Regions from separate parts of the Homo sapiens genome. Here region 1 is linked to region 2. Evidence: promoter capture Hi-C in 16 types of primary human blood cells and fetal thymus (Javierre and others, 2016). All regions are on one chromosome and are shown on one strand. The core of a region is centred on a gene start or on the middle of the fragment in contact, and the rest is flanking DNA. Distances in the headings are between cores, read along the strand shown. Region 1 overlaps RABL6 (RAB, member RAS oncogene family like 6). Region 2 holds the start of FUT7 (fucosyltransferase 7).

The links. Contacts are between HindIII fragments. The CHiCAGO score rates a contact against its expected background, and 5 or more counts as called.
Region 1: a contact is called between a fragment that was not itself captured here and the fragment with the promoter of FUT7 in region 2, in 3 of 17 cell types (naive CD4 T cells, non-activated CD4 T cells and naive CD8 T cells). The highest score is 7.2, in naive CD4 T cells.

The regions. Positions count from the first base shown.
Region 1 is chr9:136,809,586-136,815,202 of GRCh38, reverse strand. The region is part of intron 1 of RABL6 (RAB, member RAS oncogene family like 6); the gene reads right to left. It also overlaps the pseudogene LOC100422233 and the pseudogene NCLP1. Among named protein-coding and RNA genes, the nearest start is that of CCDC183-AS1, 3.5 kb to the right of the region's middle. The HindIII fragment of the contact is 3,825 bases long and covers 2,312-5,617 here.
Region 2 is chr9:137,028,168-137,034,503 of GRCh38, reverse strand. It overlaps FUT7 (fucosyltransferase 7), which reads left to right and starts at 2,416. Exons shown (of 2, transcript NM_004479.4): 1 at 2,416-2,525; 2 at 2,779-4,330. The coding sequence starts at 2,513. The coding sequence ends at 3,794. LINC02908 (long intergenic non-protein coding RNA 2908) reads right to left here. Exons shown (of 3, transcript NR_171031.1): 2 at 1,273-2,506. ABCA2 (ATP binding cassette subfamily A member 2) reads left to right here and starts at 6,267. Exons shown (of 49, transcript NM_001606.5): 1 at 6,267-6,336. RefSeq lists enhancers at 2,272-2,381, 5,382-6,126 and a silencer at 6,010-6,189. The HindIII fragment of the contact is 19,925 bases long and covers 1-4,755 here.

The sequences.
Region 1 (5,617 bases), core at 2,975-5,474, 220 kb after region 2:
CCAGCCAAGGGGGCAAAGAACGGCAAGAACGCCAAGAAGGAAGACAGCGATGAGGAGGAGGATGACTCTGAACCAGCAGTGATGAAGGCAGCAGCGGGTGCCCCTGCCTCAGGGGATGAGGACGAGGACGATGAGGACGATGCTGAGGAAGATGGCTCTGAAGCAGCACCTATGGAAACAACACCAGCCAAAGGAAAGAAAGCTTCTACAAATGCTGTTCCTGGGAAAGCCAAGAGGATGGCTGGGAATGAAGATGAAGAGGATGATGAGGACAAGGACGAGGGTGACGATGATGAAGAGGATGAAGTGATGAAGACGACAAAGAGGAGGAAGGGTCTGTCAAAGAAGCACCTGGAAAATGAAGGAAATGACCAAACAGCAGCTTCTGAAGCCAAGAAACACAAAGTGGAGAGTGAGAAGCACAGAACCAACTGTGCCTTTTTTTTTTTTTTAAGACAGGGTCTCACTCTCTCGCCCAGGTTGGACTGCAGTGGCGCAATCTTGGCTCACTGCAACCTTCACCTGCCAGGCTCAAGTGATTCTCCTGCTTCAGCCTCCTGAGTAGCTGGGATTACAGGCGTGTACCACTACCACCCGGCTAATTTTTGTATTTTTAGTAGAGACGGGGTTTCACCATGTTGGCCAGGCTGGAACGTCTTTCAATCTTTGTTGGAAACCTGAACTTTAACAAGTCTGCTCCTGAGTTAAAAACTAGTATCCATGGGCCAGGCCTGGTGGCTCACGCCTGTAATCCCAGCACTTTGGGAGGCTGAGGTGGACAGATCACAAGGTCAGGAGTTTGAGACCAGCCTGGCCAACATAATGAAACCCTGTCTCTACTAAAAATACAAAAATTAGCCGGGCGTAGTGGTGCGTGCCTGTAGTCCCAGCTACTGGGGAGGCTGAGGCAGGAGAATCACTTGAACCCGGGAGGTGGAAGCTGCAGTGAGCACCATTGCACTCCAGCCTGGGTAACAGAGCAAGACCCTGTCTCGAAAAAGAAAGAAAAACAAAAACTAGTATCCATGATATTTTTGCTAAAAATGATCTTGCTGTTGTGGATGTCAGAATGGGTATGACAAGGAAATCTGACTATGTGGATTTTCAAGCTGCTGAAGACCTGGAAAGAGCCTTGGAACTCGCTGGTTTGAAAGACTTTGGCAATGAAATTAAACTAGAGAAACCAAAAGGAAAAGACAGTAAGAAAGAGCAAGATGTGAGAATACTTTTGGCTACAAATCTCCCTTACAAAGTCACTCAGGATGAATTACAAGTGTTTTGGCTGGGCGCAGTGGCGCAGTGGCTCACACCTGTAATCCCAGCACTTTGGGAGGCCAAGGCAGGCAGATCACGAGGTCAGGAGATCAAGACCATCCTGGCTAACACGGTGAAACCCTGTCTCTACTAAAAATACAAAAAATTAGCTGGGTGTGGTGACGGGTGCCTGTAGTCCCAGCTACTCGGGAGGCTGAGGCAGGAAAATGGCGCAAACTTGGGAGGTGGAGCTTGCAGTGAGCTGAGATCACGGCCACTGCACTCCAGCCTGGGCAACAGAGCGAGACTCTGGCTCAAAAAACAAAAAAGTGTTTGAAGATGCTGTGGAGATTGGATTAGTCAGCAAGGATGGGAAGAGTAAAGGGACTGCTTATATTGAGGTTAAGACAGAAGCTAATGCAGAGAAAACTTCTGAAGAAACGCAGGGAACAGAGATGGATGGCCGATCTATTTCCCTGCACTATCATGGAGAGAAAGGTCTAAATCAAGACTAGAGAGACCACTTGGAGGGGTGAATCAAAAACTCTGGTTTAAGCAACCTCTCCTACAGTGCAACAGAAGAAACTCTTCAGAAAGAATCTGAGACAAGGCAACTTTTATCAAAGTGCCCCAGAACCAAAATGGCAAATCTAAAGGGTGTGCATGCACTTACAGTTCGCTTCATTTGAAGATGATAAAGCAGCTTTAAATTCCTGTAATAAAAGGGAAACTGGGGGCAGGGCAATCAGGCTGGAGTTGCAAGGACCACCTGATGCCAGGAGCCAGCCATCTAAAACTGTCTGTCAAAGGCCTGTCTGAGGACACCACTGAAGAGGCTTTAGTCATTCGACAGCTTTGTTGGGCAAGGGTAGTCACCAACCAGGAAACCGGGTGCCCCAAAGGCTTTGGCTCTGTAGATGGCAACAGTGAGGAGGATGCCAAAAGCGCCAAGGAGGCCGCGGAAGATGGTGAAATTGAGGGAAACAAAGGTAACTTGGACTGGGCCAAACCTAAGGGCGAAGGTGGCTTTGGGGTTGTGATGGAGGTAGAGGAAGCTTTGGAGGATGAGGTGGTGGCAGAAGCCAGGAAGGCTTTGGTGGGCGAGGCAGCTTCTGGGGAGGCAGAGGTGACCACAAGCCACAAGGAAAGAAGACAAAGTTTGAACGGCTTCTGTCCCTTTGTCTTTCCCTCTCCCATTTGAAAGAAAGGACGCTGGGGTTTTTATTCCGTTACCTGATCAATGACAGAGCTCTCTGAGGACATTCCAAGACAGTCTACAGTCCTGTGGTCTCCTTGGAAATTCGTATAGACAACATTTCAAGGGTAATACCTTCCTTGTTTGTTTTGACTGGATATTCATATAAACTTTTCTTTCTTTTCTTTTTTTTTTAAGACGAAGTCTCACTCTGTCGCCCAGGCTGGAGCGCAGTGGTGTGATCTTGGCTCACGGCAACCTCTGCCTCCCGGGTTCAAGCGATTCTCCTGCCTCAGCCTCCCGAGTAGCTGGGATTACAGGCATACGCCACCACACCTGGCTAATTTTCATATTTTCAGTAGAGATGAGTTTCATCATGTTGGCCAGGTTGGTCTTGAACTCCTGACCTCATGTAATCCGCCCACCTCAGCCTCCCAAAGTGCTGGGATTACAGGTGTGAGCCACCGTGCCCGGCCTGCTAAGTCCCATTTCTAAATTCGCACCAGTGTCTACTCAGAGAGGACTCTGGTTGTCCGAGCTCCTGGGCCAGGCCAGTATCAGAGCTGCACAATAATGCTCACTCAGGAGCAACTCCACAGAAAAATTCTGCACCAAATACAACTGATATTTTGTGTCCAGTCACAGTAGAAAGGGACAGACCAACTCAGGCAACAATCTTTCTTCCAAATAATTTCAAATAATTTTCCTAATAATTTTATATGCAAATAATTTCAAAATTGTGTAAACCAAAATTAAAATCCCAAGGCCTGCCAACCATCTGAATGGACTTCCTCTTCTAGGCCAGGGCCATCCAAATTTCATCTGAAAGACTGGTTCAGGCCATTATGGGAAGAGGGGAGTCAGACAGGCCTCATTGTGGCCTCCTCCCTTCTGGAATTCAGGAAAAGCTCACCAGCATTTAACATCAACACTGACTTTAAGTCTGATAAGAAACATAATCTGGCCAGGCGCGGTGGCTCACGCCTGTAATCCCAGCACTTTGGGAGGCCAAGGGGTTCGGACTGCTTGAGTAGAGGGGTCTGAGCCCAGCTGGGCAACGTGGTGAAACCCTGTCTCTCTAAAAAATACCAAAATTAGCTGGGTGTGGTGGTGCAATTGTTTTTTTTTTTTTTTTTGAGACAGGGTCTGACTCTGTCACCCAGGCTGGAGTGCAGTGGCACAATCTCAGCTCACTGTAACTTCTGCCACTTGGGCTCAAGCGATTCTCCCGCCTCAGCCTCCTGAGTAGCTGGGATTACAGGCACCCACCATCACACCCGGTTAATTTTTATAGTTTTAGTAGAGACGGGGTTTCGACATGTTGGCCAGGCTGGTCTTGAACTCCTGGCCTCAGGTTGTCCGCCTGCCTCGGCCTCTCAATGTGCTGAGATTACAGGCGTGAGCCACCGCGCCCGGCAAAAAAACACAATTTTTTTAAACTACCTCCGACCTGGAAGCCCCCACTTCAAGTTGTCCCGCCTTTGTGGACCAAATCAACATATATCTTAAATGTATTTGATTACTGTCTCATGTCTAAAATGTATAAAACCAAGCTGTGCCCTCCACCTTGGGCACATGTCCTCAGGGTCACCTGAGGGCTATGTCACGAGCCATGGTCACTCATATTCAGCTCAAAAATAAATCTCTTCAAATATTTGACAGAGTTTGACTTTTTCATCCATTATGGTCCAATGTCTCATTCGAGTTTTTATTCTAAAACCAGTGGGTGTCCCACACGTCTACCGGGACCACTAGCAACTCCGAGCAAATGCAGGGCCCAGGAGGAGAGCCCAGACTCCTGGAAACCCGCAGCAGTTCCCAGAAACTCTCACCCCCAAAACCCTCGACTCTGTCTTGATCACATTGCTGGTCTGTTACGCTCTGTAAAATATTTGAGAAAATAAATACCAGAAAGCCGGGCATGGTGGCTTACGCCTGTAATCCCAGCACTTTGAGAGGCTGAGGCGGGCAGATCACGAGGTCAGGAGATTGAGACCATCCTGGCTAACACGGTGAAATCCTGCCTCTACTAAAAATACAAAAAATTAGCCGGGCGTGGTGGCCGGTGCCTATAGTCCCAGCTACTCGGGAGGCTGAAGCAGGAGAATGGTGTGAACCCGGGAGGAGGAGCTTGCAGTGAGCTGAGATCACGCCACTGCACTCCAGCCTGGGAGACACAGCAAAACGCAAAACTCTGTCTCAAAAAAGAAAAGAAAAGAAAAGAAATACTAGAAACTTTCTATTCTAACACAGAAACTCAAAAGTTTTAAAATTGCATGTTATTCAGCTATAAAGATAACATCTTTCTAAAATGTAATTTAGGTACAAATTCAAATTTCTCTCTGTCTCACCACCTTTCATTCAGTTCTAGGAGATCATAACCTGTTCTCCAAGTACTGGAGACTGGCTTTTCTCCTCTGGAAGGACCCCATTGCCCTTTTTAGTCACACTCGCCCAGGACCACACAGGGGTGGTCCTGGTGCATGAGGTGGACCTTGCCCAGGACCCTCGGGGAGCCTTTTCAGAAGGTGAACAGTTTCCAGGTCCAGGCCTGATTTCCCAGGGACTAATACTGAGCTTAGCCAATACTGTAAGCAATAAAATTAAATAAAGGATCCAAACGCAGAGTCTAAAAACTGGCGTAAACTCAGTTATTTTGACTCAATATTCTCTTCTCCGAATGCCAGCTATGTATAAAGTTTCAATTATAACACATTTAAAATCAGCTTTTATTTTTATTCAAAATGCACCACTTTATTTTCCTTACCAGACAGCCAAGCATTAAGCACGTTCCAGTCACGTGACTTCTTCAGCGAGCCCCCAGGCTTCCACTCCACGGGAGTCTGGGAGCTCCTGGACAGAGGAGTCCTGAGATTTCAAATAGTCAAGCCTTCTCCCCAGCCACAAGTTCCTTTGATGCTTGGGTTACTGAACACAAACGCAATGGATTGTTTGTCTTCAACATAATCCGTTTCTGTTCCTAAACGTGTTGGCTGCGCTTTCTTTCTGATGAGCACGCTGACTCTAATTTGAACTTCATCAAAATCTTCTTTGTCGTCGTATGTTCTAGAGTATAAGAAAAGCCAATACGGCCCTTGGTTCGGACATCAACTTTCTTTTAAATTTTTTTTTCGTATTTTTAGTAGAGACGGTGTTTCACTATGTTGG
Region 2 (6,336 bases), core at 1,167-3,666:
AGGCGGGGCTGGAGGCAGCTGCCCACTCTGGTGCCAGCCCCTAAGCCAAGCAGCTCAGGCACTGACAGTTTCCCGTGGCGCCCACAGGCACCCCTCCCTCCAAACCCCCCTCCCTCCAAGCTCCCCTCCAAGCTCCCCTCCCTCCAGCCCCCTCCCTCCAAACCCCCCTCTCTCCAGCCCCCCTCCCAAGCCCCCTCCCTCCAAGTCCCCCTCCCTCCAGCCCCCCTCCCTCCAGCCGTTGCACAAGTTCCGCAGCAAAGCTCAGCTCAGAGGCTACACTGCGCCACAGGGGTGGGGGCCTCTGACTACCACCCTGTCCCAGTCTTGCCTCTGTCCCCACAGTGGGATCCTCCCACTTCAGTCTCCAGCTGCCTGGTTCCCCTCCCAAGGCAGCCTTGTCCTCACTGTGGGGCCGGGGAGAGGCCAGCAGCCCCTGGGGCCCAAAAGTAGAACAGGACAGGGACAGGGGTGGTGGGAGGCAGGCCCCCTCTGAGGGTGCTGGGGCAAAGGTCTGGACAACAGTTCATGGTTGCCATTCCTCCCAGGACACACGATCTGAGCCCCCAAAAGACCTGACAGGACAGACGCGTCCTCATTCCCAGCATCCCAGCATTTTGGGAGGCCGAGGTGGGAGGACTGCTTGAGCCAGGAGTTTGAAACTAGCCTGGACAACATAACAAGACTCTGCCTCTACAAAAAATTTTAAAAAATTAACCAGGCATGGTAGTGCACACCCATAGACCCAGCTCCTTGGGAGGCTGAGGTGGGAGCATTGCTTGAGCCCAGGAGGTTGAGGCTGCAGCAAACCGTGACTGCGCCACTGCACTCCAGCCTGGGCAACAGAGCAAGACCCTGTCTCAAAAAACAAAAAACAAAAACCCACACACAAAAAAGCAAACTTGGCTGGGCGCGGTGGCTCATGCCTGTAATCCCAACACTTTGGGAGGCTGAAACTTGTGGATCACCTGAAGTCAGGAGTTTGAGACCAGCCTGGCCAACATGGGAAAACCCCATCTCTACTAAAAATACAAAAATTAGCTGGGCGTGGTGGCAGGCACCCATAATCCCAGCTACTTGGGAGGCTGAGACAGGAGAATCACTTGAACCCGGAAGGTGGAGGTTGCAGTGAGCCAAGATCGCACCACTTGATCCTGACTTCAGGTGATCCACAAGCCTTGGCCTCCCAAAATGCTGGGATTACAGCCTGGGCGATAGTGCAAGACTCCCTCTCAAAAAACAAACAAACAAACAAACAAACAAACCAAGCCTGACCTGCATTGAGATCTCCAGGACGTCTGGGTCTGGCCACGCCTGGGACCACACAAGGTCCCGTGCAGCAGAGTGGCAACGTGGTTGGGTGAAGAGGCTGATGGGGCCTCCCACTGTGGCTGAGAGTGGGGTGTTGGTTGGCTGGGGCTCAGGGTGACCCCGCAGGGCCATCCCAGCCTGGCTGGCACCCAACGTGGGCTGGTGTAGAAGAAGGAACCTGGCCTCCAGGCTCCAGGCCCTGGCTTAGAGGGAGCGGGGAGTCTGGACTTCAGGCTGGATCCCTTCCTCTTCCTGGAGCGGGTGCTGGCCCCCAACCCGCTTGCGTCAGGGACAAAAGGACTCCTTCCCTTTCCAGCCTGGAAAGCCCCTCTGCTGCAGGCTGGAGGAAGGGACCCTGGGCCCAGCCTATAGTCAGCGGTGTCTATGGGCATGGATCTGGACGGGGAAAAGGACAAAGCAGCCTCCATCCACAGTTCATTCCGGGACCAGGCCCTTGCAGGCACGCGCTGGGCTCCTGTGGGAAGACACTAAGGGCCCCAGGACAGACCTCCTCTCCGGGCATCTGGGTTCCTAGATGGCAGAGGTGGCAGAGTGGGGTGGGATGGCCCAATTGGGAGCTTTAGCTTCCGGCAAAGAGCTGAGCACAGTACATCTTCAATGTGTAAGATTCTCCTGGGAGACCAGGGCCCAGCTGGTGGTGAGCTGGGGGAAGTGGGTGATACTGCCGTGGGAGGAGCCACCTGGCCCTCTGGGGAAGTGCACTCGCTGTCTGCAGCGCCCAGGCCTGGGTAGCTGGGTGGGGGCTGGGGGGCCATCTGTGCTCAGGGTGCCTGCACCTGGGCCTTCTCTGCCCTGGGCCAAGCCTGCCCGAGCCTCTCTGTCCTCTGCCTGCCCAGCTGGACATCTCTGGGCCTCTCTGGAGACCAGTGGGGTGGGCTGTGGGGGCGTCATATTGCCCTGGCTTGGCATCCCTCTTGTGGCTGTACCCCTCCCAGCAGCCCCAGGACTAGCAAGTCCCCGAGATGGGGGTGGGGACAGTGGTTGATGCCAAAGGTTGTGGGGGCAGGGGCGGGGCAGGAGCAGGAAGGTCCCCTGAGTTCCCTCACCTTGGGCAGAGATAAAAGGAGCACAGTTCCAGGCGGGGCTGAGCTAGGGCGTAGCTGTGATTTCAGGGGCACCTCTGGCGGCTGCCGTGATTTGAGAATCTCGGGTCTCTTGGCTGACTGATCCTGGGAGACTGTGGATGAATAATGCTGGTGAGTGTCTGGCCCTCGGGGAGGCCCAAGCTGGGGACAGCTAGGCAACCTGGGAGGGGAGGACGGGGGTGGCGCTGAGTGGGGCATGTCGGTGTCCCTGAGCCCATGGGAGGGGAGGACGGGGGTGGCGCTGAGTGGGGCATGTGGGTGTCCCTGAGCCCATGGGAGGGGAGGACGGGGTTGGCGCTGAGTGGGGCGTGTGGATGTCCCTGAGCCCAAGTGACAGAGCCTCCCCTCCCTCGTGCTGCTGCAGGGCACGGCCCCACCCGGAGGCTGCGAGGCTTGGGGGTCCTGGCCGGGGTGGCTCTGCTCGCTGCCCTCTGGCTCCTGTGGCTGCTGGGGTCAGCCCCTCGGGGTACCCCGGCACCCCAGCCCACGATCACCATCCTTGTCTGGCACTGGCCCTTCACTGACCAGCCCCCAGAGCTGCCCAGCGACACCTGCACCCGCTACGGCATCGCCCGCTGCCACCTGAGTGCCAACCGAAGCCTGCTGGCCAGCGCCGACGCCGTGGTCTTCCACCACCGCGAGCTGCAGACCCGGCGGTCCCACCTGCCCCTGGCCCAGCGGCCGCGAGGGCAGCCCTGGGTGTGGGCCTCCATGGAGTCTCCTAGCCACACCCACGGCCTCAGCCACCTCCGAGGCATCTTCAACTGGGTGCTGAGCTACCGGCGCGACTCGGACATCTTTGTGCCCTATGGCCGCCTGGAGCCCCACTGGGGGCCCTCGCCACCGCTGCCAGCCAAGAGCAGGGTGGCCGCCTGGGTGGTCAGCAACTTCCAGGAGCGGCAGCTGCGTGCCAGGCTGTACCGGCAGCTGGCGCCTCATCTGCGGGTGGATGTCTTTGGCCGTGCCAATGGACGGCCACTGTGCGCCAGCTGCCTGGTGCCCACCGTGGCCCAGTACCGCTTCTACCTGTCCTTTGAGAACTCTCAGCACCGCGACTACATTACGGAGAAATTCTGGCGCAACGCACTGGTGGCTGGCACTGTGCCAGTGGTGCTGGGGCCCCCACGGGCCACCTATGAGGCCTTCGTGCCGGCTGACGCCTTCGTGCATGTGGATGACTTTGGCTCAGCCCGAGAGCTGGCGGCTTTCCTCACTGGCATGAATGAGAGCCGATACCAACGCTTCTTTGCCTGGCGTGACAGGCTCCGCGTGCGACTGTTCACCGACTGGCGGGAACGTTTCTGTGCCATCTGTGACCGCTACCCACACCTACCCCGCAGCCAAGTCTATGAGGACCTTGAGGGTTGGTTTCAGGCCTGAGATCCGCTGGCCGGGGGAGGTGGGTGTGGGTGGAAGGGCTGGGTGTCGAAATCAAACCACCAGGCATCCGGCCCTTACCGGCAAGCAGCGGGCTAACGGGAGGCTGGGCACAGAGGTCAGGAAGCAGGGGTGGGGGGTGCAGGTGGGCACTGGAGCATGCAGAGGAGGTGAGAGTGGGAGGGAGGTAACGGGTGCCTGCTGCGGCAGACGGGAGGGGAAAGGCTGCCGAGGACCCTCCCCACCCTGAACAAATCTTGGGTGGGTGAAGGCCTGGCTGGAAGAGGGTGAAAGGCAGGGCCCTTGGGGCTGGGGGGCACCCCAGCCTGAAGTTTGTGGGGGCCAAACCTGGGACCCCGAGCTTCCTCGGTAGCAGAGGCCCTGTGGTCCCCGAGACACAGGCACGGGTCCCTGCCACGTCCATAGTTCTGAGGTCCCTGTGTGTAGGCTGGGGCGGGGCCCAGGAGACCACGGGGAGCAAACCAGCTTGTTCTGGGCTCAGGGAGGGAGGGCGGTGGACAATAAACATCTGAGCAGTGCCTCGTGGGTCTGGCCAGTGTCTCATGGGTCACCTCCGTGCAGGGCCACAGAGCCTGCATCTGCCCTCCCCTGACATGTCGCCCCCACGGCCATGGGGCTGCTTGTTCCCCACGGGGGGTCCTGTCGCCTGACTTCTGGGCCTTTGCTCACCCTCCGCCTGAGAGCCCTCCCTGTGCCGGGCTGCCCACTGGCTACCCCAGTTCCTACAGCCTCCGCCAGACGGCCCCTTATCAGAGAGCCTTCTGTGTCCCCCAAAAGGCCAAGGCGATGAGCCCAGGAGTTCGAGACCAGCCTGGGCAGTGTAGTGAAATCTCATCTCTACCAAAAATACAAGAATTAGCAGGGCGTGGTGGCTCACGCTTGTGGTCTCAGCTACTTGGGATACTGAGGTGAGAGGATGGCTTGAGCCCAGGAGGTTGAAGCTTCAGTGAGCCGTGATCACACCACAGCACTCCAGCCTGGGCAACAGAATGAGACCCTGTCTCAAAACAAAAACCAAAACAGGCCAAGGTTGGGGAAGAGTAGGGAACGGACGTCAGAGGCCTGGCCAGGCTGAAATCGCCCATCTCCCAGGCCCGCAGGCTGGAGGGTGTCTGGGGTGACAGGGTCTGACCTGTGCCTTGTAGCTCCCTCTGGTGGCCAGTGCTGGGGAGGCACTGGGGATGCGGCTGCAGCCAGGGAGCCCCTGTAGTGGACGGTGGAGAGTGGGGCGAGGAGGAGAGAGGCCAACCCACGGGTGGTGCTGACCAGGGCCCCAACAGGCTAAGCCCCCGGGGCTGGGGCACAGGGCTTGTCCCTACCCCAGGTAGGGGTGGGCAGGTTGAGGGCAGGAAGCCCCCCTCACCCATGGCTGTGGCTTGTGGGAAAGACCTGCTGGTAGCTTCCTGCCCTGACCCAGCCCTGTGGACTGAGCAGAGAAAAGCAAGTGCCTTGAGGCTGCGGGCTGGGGTGGGAAGCTGATCCCTCACTCACTAGCCCAGGGTCACCTTCCTGCTGCAAAGGAGCTGGGAGGAGTGGGGAGCTGTGGCCTCGGAGGTCTTCATTCACTTGAGGATGCGCCTTCTATGTGCGCCCTGACACTGGACACCACACAGCGCTACTCCACCCCATTCACAGGGGGGAAACTGAGTCTGGGAAGCGCCGTCAGAGCCACCCATGGGGTCAGCCTGTCCTCTGTCGCTCTCTACAGGCCACGCGGAGGAACTGCCCCACCTCCCGGGGCGCCCCAGCAGGTGCCAAGCCACAGCCGCAGAACCGCCTGATCCCGAACTCCCTGTGCAGAGACCAGACTCGCCCGAATATGGGGAGAAAAACGAGCCGCGTGCAGCAGGGGCCGCCTCGGTCCCCTGCCTGCTCCGCTCACGGCGAGCGTTCCTGGGGCCTCGAGTTTCCCCCCTTCCGCTGGCTGCTCGGAATCGCGGGACGGACCCACCTGGCCGCCCTGCCTCCCTTCCAGGTGGGCACCACCTGGACTCCAAGTGCTGGTTTACAAAGCACACAGGAGACCCTTACGGGGGTGAGCTGGCCCCTCGCCAGCGTCCGCTCGGCGCGCCCCGGGGACAGTGAAGGCTTGGGGCGCCTCTGCAGAGTCGCCAGCGCGGTGGGCGCAGCCGGATGCCTCTGGGAGAAGAGCGCAGCGCCCGAGGGTCCCCCGGCCTACGAAGGCTAAGCCGGGGTCTCGGATTCGATGTGGGCGCGTCGCGTGACGCCCGGCGAGGGGCGGCCCGGAGGCTTCCCGGCGGCGGCGCGCGCAGGGTCTCGGGCCCGGGTCGGTCCCGGGCGCGGCGCGGGCGGCGGGCGCCTCCTGGCGGGCGCGGACGGAGCGCGGCGCCTTTAAGCGGGGGCGGGCGGGGCGCGGGCAGAGTCGCTGTCGCCGCGGCCGCCGGGGCGGAGCCAGCGCGGATCGGGTCCCGGACGCCCGAGCGCCCCGCCCCCGCGCGGGCGATGCCCAGCGGCGCGGCGGGCTGCGGGGCCCGGCGGGGCGCGCAGAGGAGCGGGCCGCGGC